Regions from separate parts of the Homo sapiens genome. Here region 2 is linked to region 1. The links are contacts of gene promoters, found by promoter capture Hi-C in human tissues and cell types (Jung and others, 2019). All regions are on one chromosome and are shown on one strand. The core of a region is centred on a gene start or on the middle of the fragment in contact, and the rest is flanking DNA. Distances in the headings are between cores, read along the strand shown.

What was found. Contacts are between HindIII fragments. The study calls those that stand out against the background at their distance.
Region 2: a fragment that was not itself captured here is called in contact with the fragment with the promoter of SUMF1 in region 1 in 1 of the 25 tissues and cell types used here (mesendoderm cells).

What each region holds. Positions count from the first base shown.
Region 1 is chr3:4,465,204-4,469,535 of GRCh38, forward strand. SUMF1 (sulfatase modifying factor 1) reads right to left here and starts at 2,066. Exons shown (of 9, transcript NM_182760.4): 1 at 1,773-2,066. The coding sequence starts at 2,042. It overlaps LOC124909340 (a long non-coding RNA gene), which reads left to right and starts at 1,621. Exons shown (of 2, transcript XR_007095789.1): 1 at 1,621-2,305; 2 at 3,461-4,196. RefSeq lists a silencer at 1,763-1,942 and an enhancer at 2,113-2,292. The HindIII fragment of the contact is 11,378 bases long and covers 1-4,332 here.
Region 2 is chr3:4,609,786-4,614,117 of GRCh38, forward strand. The region is part of intron 4 of ITPR1 (inositol 1,4,5-trisphosphate receptor type 1); the gene reads left to right. Among named protein-coding and RNA genes, the nearest start is that of ITPR1, 120 kb to the left of the region's middle. The HindIII fragment of the contact is 6,185 bases long and covers 1-4,332 here.

The sequences.
Region 1 (4,332 bases), core at 816-3,315:
CGGTGGCTCACGTTTGTAATCCCAGCACGCTGGGAGGCCAAGGCAAGCGGATCACAAGGTCAGGAGATTGAGACCATCCGGGCCAACATGGTGAAACCCCATCTCTATTAAAAATACAAAAATTAGCTGGGTATGGTGGCGTGTGCCTGTAATCCCAGCTACTTGGGAGGCTGAGGCAGGAAGGAGAATCATTCGAACCCAGGAGGTGGAGATTGCAGTGAGCGGAGATCGCGCCACTGCACTCCAGCCTGGTGACAGAGCGAGACTCCGTCTAAAAAAAAAAAAAAGAAAAGAAAAAAGAAAGAGAGATTGATTATCAATTACCAGGCAAGTTAGAGAGGAATTAATATCAAGTATGGCCAATACACACTAAAACAGTAATCAGGAGTCTTCAACACACAAAAGATAAACAGTACTGCAGGACATGCTCTAAGGGTAACAGGAAAAAAAGTAAAGGCCAAAAATTATACAGGATGGAAAAACAATGAGAAGCCCAGGTATCAACCTCCTACACTCTACACCTGAGAGACTAAATCATGGTCCTGACCCCATCACCCTCACAGTCCAGTTGGGGAGAGACATCAGCAGAAAAACATCTTTAATAATTGTTATGTCAGAATAAACACATAACTACTGAGGCAGGATACGGAAATATTGAAGGGGAGAGAAAGAGGAGATCAGGTAAAACCTACTGTGGATGTTACCTCTCACCTAAGTCCTAAATATTGGTCAGGATTAACCCAAAGGAAAGAAAAATGGAATGGGAAAAGGATAGTGTCTGCTAAGTAAACAAGAAGGAGCACTAGTTTAGGAGTCAGAAGACCTGACCTTTAGACCCATAAGTTGTTTCGACAACACATCAATATGCAAAATACCGGGCAGACAGATTGAAGTAACAGTTATTTCTTTCTTTCTTTTTTTTTTTCGAGACGGAGTCTCGCCCTGTCGCCCAGGCTGGAGTGCAGTGGCAAGATCTCGGCTCACTGCAACCTCCGCCTCCCGGGTTCCAGCAATTCTCCTGCCTCAGCCTCCCGAGTAGCTGGGATTACAGGCGCCCGCCACCACGCCCGGCTAATTTTTGTATTTTTAGTAGAGACGGGGTTTCGCCATGTTGGCCAGGCTGGTCTCGAACTCCTGACCTCGTGATCCGCGCGCTTCGGCCTCCCAAAGTGCTGGGATTACAGGCATGTGAGCCACCGCGCCCGGCCAGTAAGTTATTTATATATCCCGGCACCTAACACATACAGGCGCTAAGCAAGACAGATAAATAATAGCAATAAAACAACTACAGTTTGCTTAGCCCTTCCTAAGTGCTAAAGTGCTAAGAATAGCAGGATAAACAATTCAAGCCCTTGTCCTCAAGCAGAGTGTACTCGAGGAGACTACAGATAAGTATACAACAACCCTGGTGAAGATACTGAGACCCAGGATCCTAATTTATTCCGTTAATAAGAGAGGAAATGGTGATTTAAACCATAATTTGATTGCCTTAAAATTATGAGATCCTCATTAAGAGAACAGGTTGGAGGGAGAAAGAAATAGGGGGTAAAGAAGTAACAATAACCCTCAAACCAAACTCCCTAATGGTCAATTAAATGGAGTCTTCCGGTGAGGCACGGAGAAGGAACTCCTCATACGGGAACAGCAGGTGCTCGATTTGGGGTGTGGTTATAACCTTTACTTCCCTTCCTACTAGTGCCTTGCTTTGCCTACTCCAACCCCGTCCAGGAACCGAGCAGCCCCCACCCGCCTCGGAGGAATCGATGGAGCACCTTTGAGTGCGCGAGTTGCCGCTCTCCGGGTACGGGGCCCGGAGCGTTAGCCTCCCGCGAGTATCGGTGAGCGGCTGCCGAACTGCCATGGGCGCCAGGCCGCTGGGGCGTGCCGCAGCCGCAAGAACCCGCAAGGGACCCCGCGCCCGCACCGGTCCCGGCCTCCTGGCTCCCTGCCGCTCCACACAGCAGCGAGAGCAGCAGCAGCAAGAGGACGAGACCCAGCTCAGGGCAACGTCCACACACCAGCCCTAGTGCGGGCGCAGCCATGTTGTCCCGCGGGCCATGTGACCCGGTTGGTCACGTGGCTGAGCCCTCCTTAAAGGGGCAGAATTTTGAGCTGACTTACGAAGTGACCAGGAGAGTTGCTCTTCACCTTTCTTCAGGTACTTCTTTGGCGCTGCTGCTTGCCTGTGCTAACGTCAAAACGCAGCAAAACACAAAACTCCACAAAACTCAAGGCCTTCCACAGACCGTGCACCCCTTTATGATTTCTTGGTTGAAAAATAACAGTCAAATTTGCTGGGCATTTGGTAAGTGCCAGAGTACTATGCTAAGCACTTCACTTTTTAAAATCTCATTTAATCCTCACAAAGACCCAGTAATGGCGCGCTTGTAGTCCCAGCTAGTCGGGAGGCCAAGGCAGGAGAATCGTTTGAACCTGGGAGGCGGAGGTTTCAGTGAGCCCAGATCCCGCCACTGCACTCCAGCCTCGGCGACAGAGCAAGACTCCGTCTCAAAAAAAAAAGAGAAATACAATACGGAATCAGAATCCGTGGGGACTGGACACAGCAATCCAGGGTTTCACAAGCTCTCCAGATGATTCTAATCCACACTTAAGTTTAAGAACCACTGTTCTACAGTTCCGTAATCGAACAAAATGCAAAACCAAAACAAAAAGAAGATGAAGGAGAAACTTACAGATTAAAAAACAACATAGCAGGCCGGGCGCGGTGGCTCAAGCCTGTAATCCCAGCACTTTGGGAGGCCGAGGCGGGTGGATCACGAGGTCAGGAGATCGAGACCATCCTGGCTAACACGGTGAAACCCCATCTCTACTAAAAAATACAAAAAATTAGCCCGGCGTGGTGGCACGCGCCTGTAGTCCCAGCTACTCGGGAGGCTGAGGCAGGAGAATGGCATGAATCCGGGAGGTGGAGCTTGCAGTGAGCCGAGATGGCGCCACCGCACTCCAGCCTGGGGACAGAGCAAGACTCCATCTGAAAAAAAAAAAAAAAAAAAAAACATAGCAGCCAGCTGCAATATGTGAACCTTATCTAAATACTAATTCAAACCTACTGAGTTCAAAATTTTTGAGATAATCAGGGAAATTTAACCACTAAGTCAAATTATAATATTTGATAAAATTAAGGAATTGCTGTAAATTTTGTTTTTAGGCTTTTAGGAGTAATAATGGTATTTGTGGCTATATTTTTTAAAAGAATCCCCTCACTGAGGTACACACACACTCACTGAGGTATACACACACACACACACACACACACACATATATATATATGGATAAAAATATAGGCAGTCAAAGATTTGCTTCCCAAAAAATGGGTAATCAGGGTCTGGCTAAAGATGAAGCATGATTGGCCATGAGTTGATAACTGTCATAGCTGGTTGATGGGCATCTGGGTGTTTATTGCACTATTCTAATGTAGCATCTGTTTGAATTTTTTTAGCATAAAGAAAAGACCAGCCAGGCACCGTGTCTCAAGCCTGTAATCCCAGCACTTTAGGAGGCCGAGGCAGGAGAATCGCTAGAGGCCAGGAGCTTGAGACCAGCCTGGGCAACACAGCAAGACCTTGTCTCTACAAAAAATTAAGAAAATTAACTGGCCATGGTGACGCACACCGGTGGTCCTGGCTACTTCGGAGGCTGAGGCAGGAGGATCACTTGAGCCTGGTAGGCAGAGGCTGCAGTGAGCCATGATTGTGCCACTGCACTCCAGCCTGGGTGACAAAGTGAGACCATCTCTCAAAAAAAAAAAAAAGGCCTTTTCTCCTTGTTGACTATTTTACAGTTTGCCAAGGCCTTTCACACATTTTCTCATTTGAGATTACAACCACTTGGCAAGAAATGTATTATTACTATACTCATTTCAAAATTGATGAAGCTAAAAGGTCAATGCCTTAACCAAGGTTGTATGTATTTACTGTGCATAATATATAGTCAAGGTCTAGGTCAACGGTAATCTTTGTTCGCCTCCTTCAAATATCAGTCTCAGCACATGCTGTGTCAGCTGCGCTTCAGAGACCTGAACTTCTTTGATTCCTGGTCCAGCTATACCATTAGGCTATAACCTCCATGAAGGTAAGGCAGGAGCCTATTCGTTTGCCACTGTATCAGCAAAATCAGGCCAAGCCTGCACATGATCACTCAGTGAACATTTATTAAATTATGGATAAGTGAATGAACAAATGAAGTAACGATTATCTCTTTCTCTTAAGGGGAATCAAATTGTGGAGAAAATAATATAGGTCTTAGACTCACAAAGAGCTGTGGTTAAAGCTGGCCACTTTACATGAAGTATGACCTAGGCAAATTATTTCA
Region 2 (4,332 bases), core at 882-3,381, 140 kb after region 1:
AATGGACAACATAGAGGAATAGAACAGGACAGAGCTTCCTTTGGTCCTTCTTGTCTCTCTGTGGAGAAACGGGGCCAAACCAGCAGTGACAGCTCTGCTCAGCCTGCCATGTTGCCTTGAACTCTGAGAGCAGGACACGTGAGGAAAAGGCACTGTTGCGGACTAAGGGATGCCCGGCCCAGATGAGCAAGGGAGGGGGGACCAGGTCAGCTGTACTTGATGTTTCCATTCTACATGGTGGGCTGTATCAAGAAGTCTGGCCCACTGCACAGAAAATTCATTCTAGGGCCACTGTGCTGGCTGGAATGCAACAGATTTCTGTGGCATCTCATTCTTTGCTTGTCATCATCCATCCCTCTTCCTGTCCCACCCATTGGCTTGTCCAGTGGATCCTGCAAAGCTCAAATGAGAAACCTTCTTACTGCCTCTCCCATCTCTACCTGGGCTGGGTTAGTGCTCCTCTGTGCGCCAGACACCTTGGAGTTTCCTGTTGGTTCCTCCCTCTCCCTGATGACACTCGGGGACCAGGTTTTATTGACTTTGTATCTGCAGCACACAAGCACTTAATAATTGTTTGAATGAGAGAGAAATAAAATTGCTTCAAGAGAGACAGTCTGCTCTTCCTTTGTGTAGTGGGAGTTCCTGATAGGAAAAGAGTTTTTCCTGGAGGATCTCGATGACCAAGCCAATAGCTTATGTAATTCCTTTCATGCCAGCTGCTCCAGGCTTTCTGAATGCCCTTTTGTAGATGTGGCATATCCTCAGAGATTCTTAAGTATTGTCATTTTTTTTTAAATAGCCAGCGGAATGCACAGGGAAATTTCATTTGCCTTTAATGAGGTACTGAGAGGTACTGAGGATGTAGAGTTCTCCTCAGCAAAGGGTTTAACCCGAAGTCCATGGTTACTGTTTGTTACTCACAGATCTAACTTAGGGCAGGGCATTCTCATTTTTTTTGTGCACCACTTATTCCACAGGTCCGCCCAGCTATGGCCTCCTTTCCAGAACATACTGGTTTTCAGGTGGAGTGGCAAATTTTCTTTTTCCTTCCCTTTCTCTTTCCCTTTCCTGTTCCCTTTCCCTTTCCTTTCCTCTCTCTCCCCTTCCCCCTTCCCCCCCTTCTCCTTCTCCTTCCCTTCCCTTCCCTTCCCCTTCCTCTTCCCCTTCCCCTTCCCCTTCCCCCTTCCCCCTCCTTCTCCTTCTCCTTCTCCTTCCCTTCCCTTCCCTTCCCCTTCCCCTTCCTCCCTCCCTCCCTCCCTCCCTCCCTCCCTCCCTTCCTTCCTTCCCTTTCTGTCTGTCTGTCTTTCTTGACTTAAAGAAAAATAACTGCCAGCCATGGTGGCTCACGCCTGTTATCTCAGCACTTTGGGAGGCTGAGGAGAGTGGATTGCTCAAGCACAGGAGGTTGAGACCAGCCTGGGCAACATGTCAAAACCTCATCTCTACAAAAAAAAAAACAAAAAAAAAACTATATATGTACAAAAATTAGCCCAGCTGAGTGCAGTGGCTCACGCCTGTAATCCCAGCACTTTGGGAGGCCAAGGCGCGTGGATTACTTGAGGTCAGGAGTTTGAGACCAGCTTGGCCAACATGGTGAAACCCCGTCTTTACTAAAATTAGAGAATTTAGCTGGGCATGGTGGCACGCACCTGTAATCCTAGCTACTTGGGAGGCTGAGGCAGGAGAATGGCTTGAACCCAGGAGGCAGAGGTTGCAGTGAGCCGAGATCACGCCACTGTACGCCAGCCTGGGTGACAGAGCGAGACTCTCTCTCAAAAATAAATAAATAAATAAATAAATAAATAAATAAATTAGCAGGTGTCGTGGCATGTGCGTGTAGTTCCAGGTACTCGGGAGGCTGAGGTGAGAGAGTCACCTGTTCAGAGGGAGGCCGCGGCTGCAGTGAGCTGAGATCATGCCACTGCACTCCAGCTTGGGTGCCAGCGAGACCTTCTCTCAAAAAATAAACGAAAATAAACTTGCTTTGAATTCAATGAATACTTGCTTGGTTTTTATGAAAATTTTACACTTGAAAATAAATTTCATAGATGATTTTTAAAACTTCCTATTGTAAAAATAATTTAAGCCTATTTATGAATCAAGAGAATAAAAGTACAATGACTCTCCATGCACAGTGGCTTTCCATGTCTGAAGGTTCCAATCCACAGATTCAACCAACCTCAGGTCAAAAATACTCAGAAACCACCTCCCCCAAATAGTAATACAACAATTAAAAATAATACAAATAAAATTATAGCATAACAAGTGTATCAGGCCCTTTTTTTTTTTTTTTTTTTTGAGATGGAGTCTCACTCTGTCACCCAGGCTGGAGTGCAGTCCATGTCGGCTCACTGCAAGCTCTGTCTCTTGTGTTCAAGCAATTCTCCTGCCTCAGCCTCCCGAGTAGCTGGGATTACAGGCGCCCACCACCACGCCTGGCTAATTTTTATACATTTAGTAGAGACAGCGTTTCACCATGTTGGCCAGGCTGGTCTCGAGCTCCTGACCTCAGGTGATCCGCCTGCCTCGGCCTCCTAAAGTGCTAGGATTACAGGCGTGAGCTGCCGCACCTGGCCACTATATCAGGCACTTTTGAGCATCTGTGGATTATGGAATCCAAGGGGTGTCCTGGGCCCAATCCCCCATGGATACCAAAGGACAATGGCAGTACCTCAACACCCACCTTTAACAATGACCAACTCATGGCTAATCTTGTTTTTTTCTATATCCCCCCACTTCTGTCCCCCTGATCATTTTGAAGTACATGTCAGACATCATCTCATTTCATTAGAGATTACATTTTAAAACTGCTGCTTATTGTCTGGGCATGGTGGCTCATGCCTGTAATCCCAGCACTTTTGGAGGCCAAGGCAGGCGGATCACCTGAGGTCAGGAGTTTGAGACCAGCCTGGCCAACGTGGCGAACCCCCGTCTCTACTAAAAATACAAAAATTAGCCAGGTGTGGTGGTGGGGGCCTGTAATCCCAGCTACTGGGGAGGCTGAGACAGGAGAATTGCTTGAACCCAGGAGGCGGAGGTTGCAGTGAGCCAAGATCCTGCTCCTGCACTCCAGCCTGGGTGACAGAGTGAGACTGCATCTCAAAACAAACAAAAGTAACAAAACTGCTGCTTATTAATGTTTTAAAGCTGTCTGGATATGTGAATCCCAAATATCAGAGACAGATCTCAGTCAAATTAGAAAGTTTATTTTGCCAAGGTTAAGGACGTGCCTGTGACACAGTCTCTGGAAGTCCTGAGACATGGGCCCAAGGTGGTTGGGGGTACAGTTTGCTTTTATACGTTTTAGAGAGACATGAGACATTAATCAATATGTGTAAGATGTACGTTGGTTGGGTCCAGTAATTTGGGACAACTCAAAGTGGGGGCTTCCAGGTTAGGAGTAGATAAGAGACAAAAGGTTGCATTCTTCTGAGTCCTTTGTCAGTCTTCCACTAAATATACAATTTAGTCTGGCTCAGTGAATCTGTATTTTTACATAAACAATAGGGGAGAGGAAGCAATCAGATATACATTTGTCTCAGGTGACCCTCAGAGGGATGACTTTGAATAGAATGGGAGGCTGGATTGCCCTAAGCAGTTCCCAGCTTGACTTTTCCCTTTAGCTTAGTGATTTGGGGGTCCCAAGATTTATTTTTCTTTCACGGAAGAGGGAATTGGGGGGAACTTCCCTCTGTTGCTGCTCCTCTAGGCACTTGTCCTTGGGCCAGGGAATGCTCATTGCCTGAGTTTCCTGTGGGTGACGCAAATACCAAGGCCATAAGGGGAGTCGGTGATGTCATCTCTCTCTCTTCTGCCTTTCTCTCTTCCTTATAGACCAGCAGCCTCCAACCTCCAAACCCTGACAAAACAAAGCATGTTTTTCCAGCAGTGCAAATTGGACATTGTTATCTTTTTACATGAAGGGAAAATTTGTTTTCCATTATCAGCAGGATCATCCTTCTTTTCATGGGGACATGAAAAGCATTTTATTTTTATTTTTTATTGAGGTATTTCATATATGCATGTGTATACAGATATATAGGCATATATGCACACGCCTTAAATGTATAGCTGGATGGAATTTTGCATATGTGCATTTCCACATGGCCCACACTCAGATTGAGATAGATAACATTTCCAGTCCCCAAGAAGGTGCTTCTTTCCAGAAAATACCACCTCCACCTCTACCCCTGACAGAGATAACCACTGTTTTAATGCTGTCACTCTAGTTGCGCCTGTTTTTGAACTTCATGTAAGTGGATTCATTCAGTATAAATGGACTCTTTGATTTGGCATCTTTCACTCCAAATAATGACTGTGATACAAAAAAAT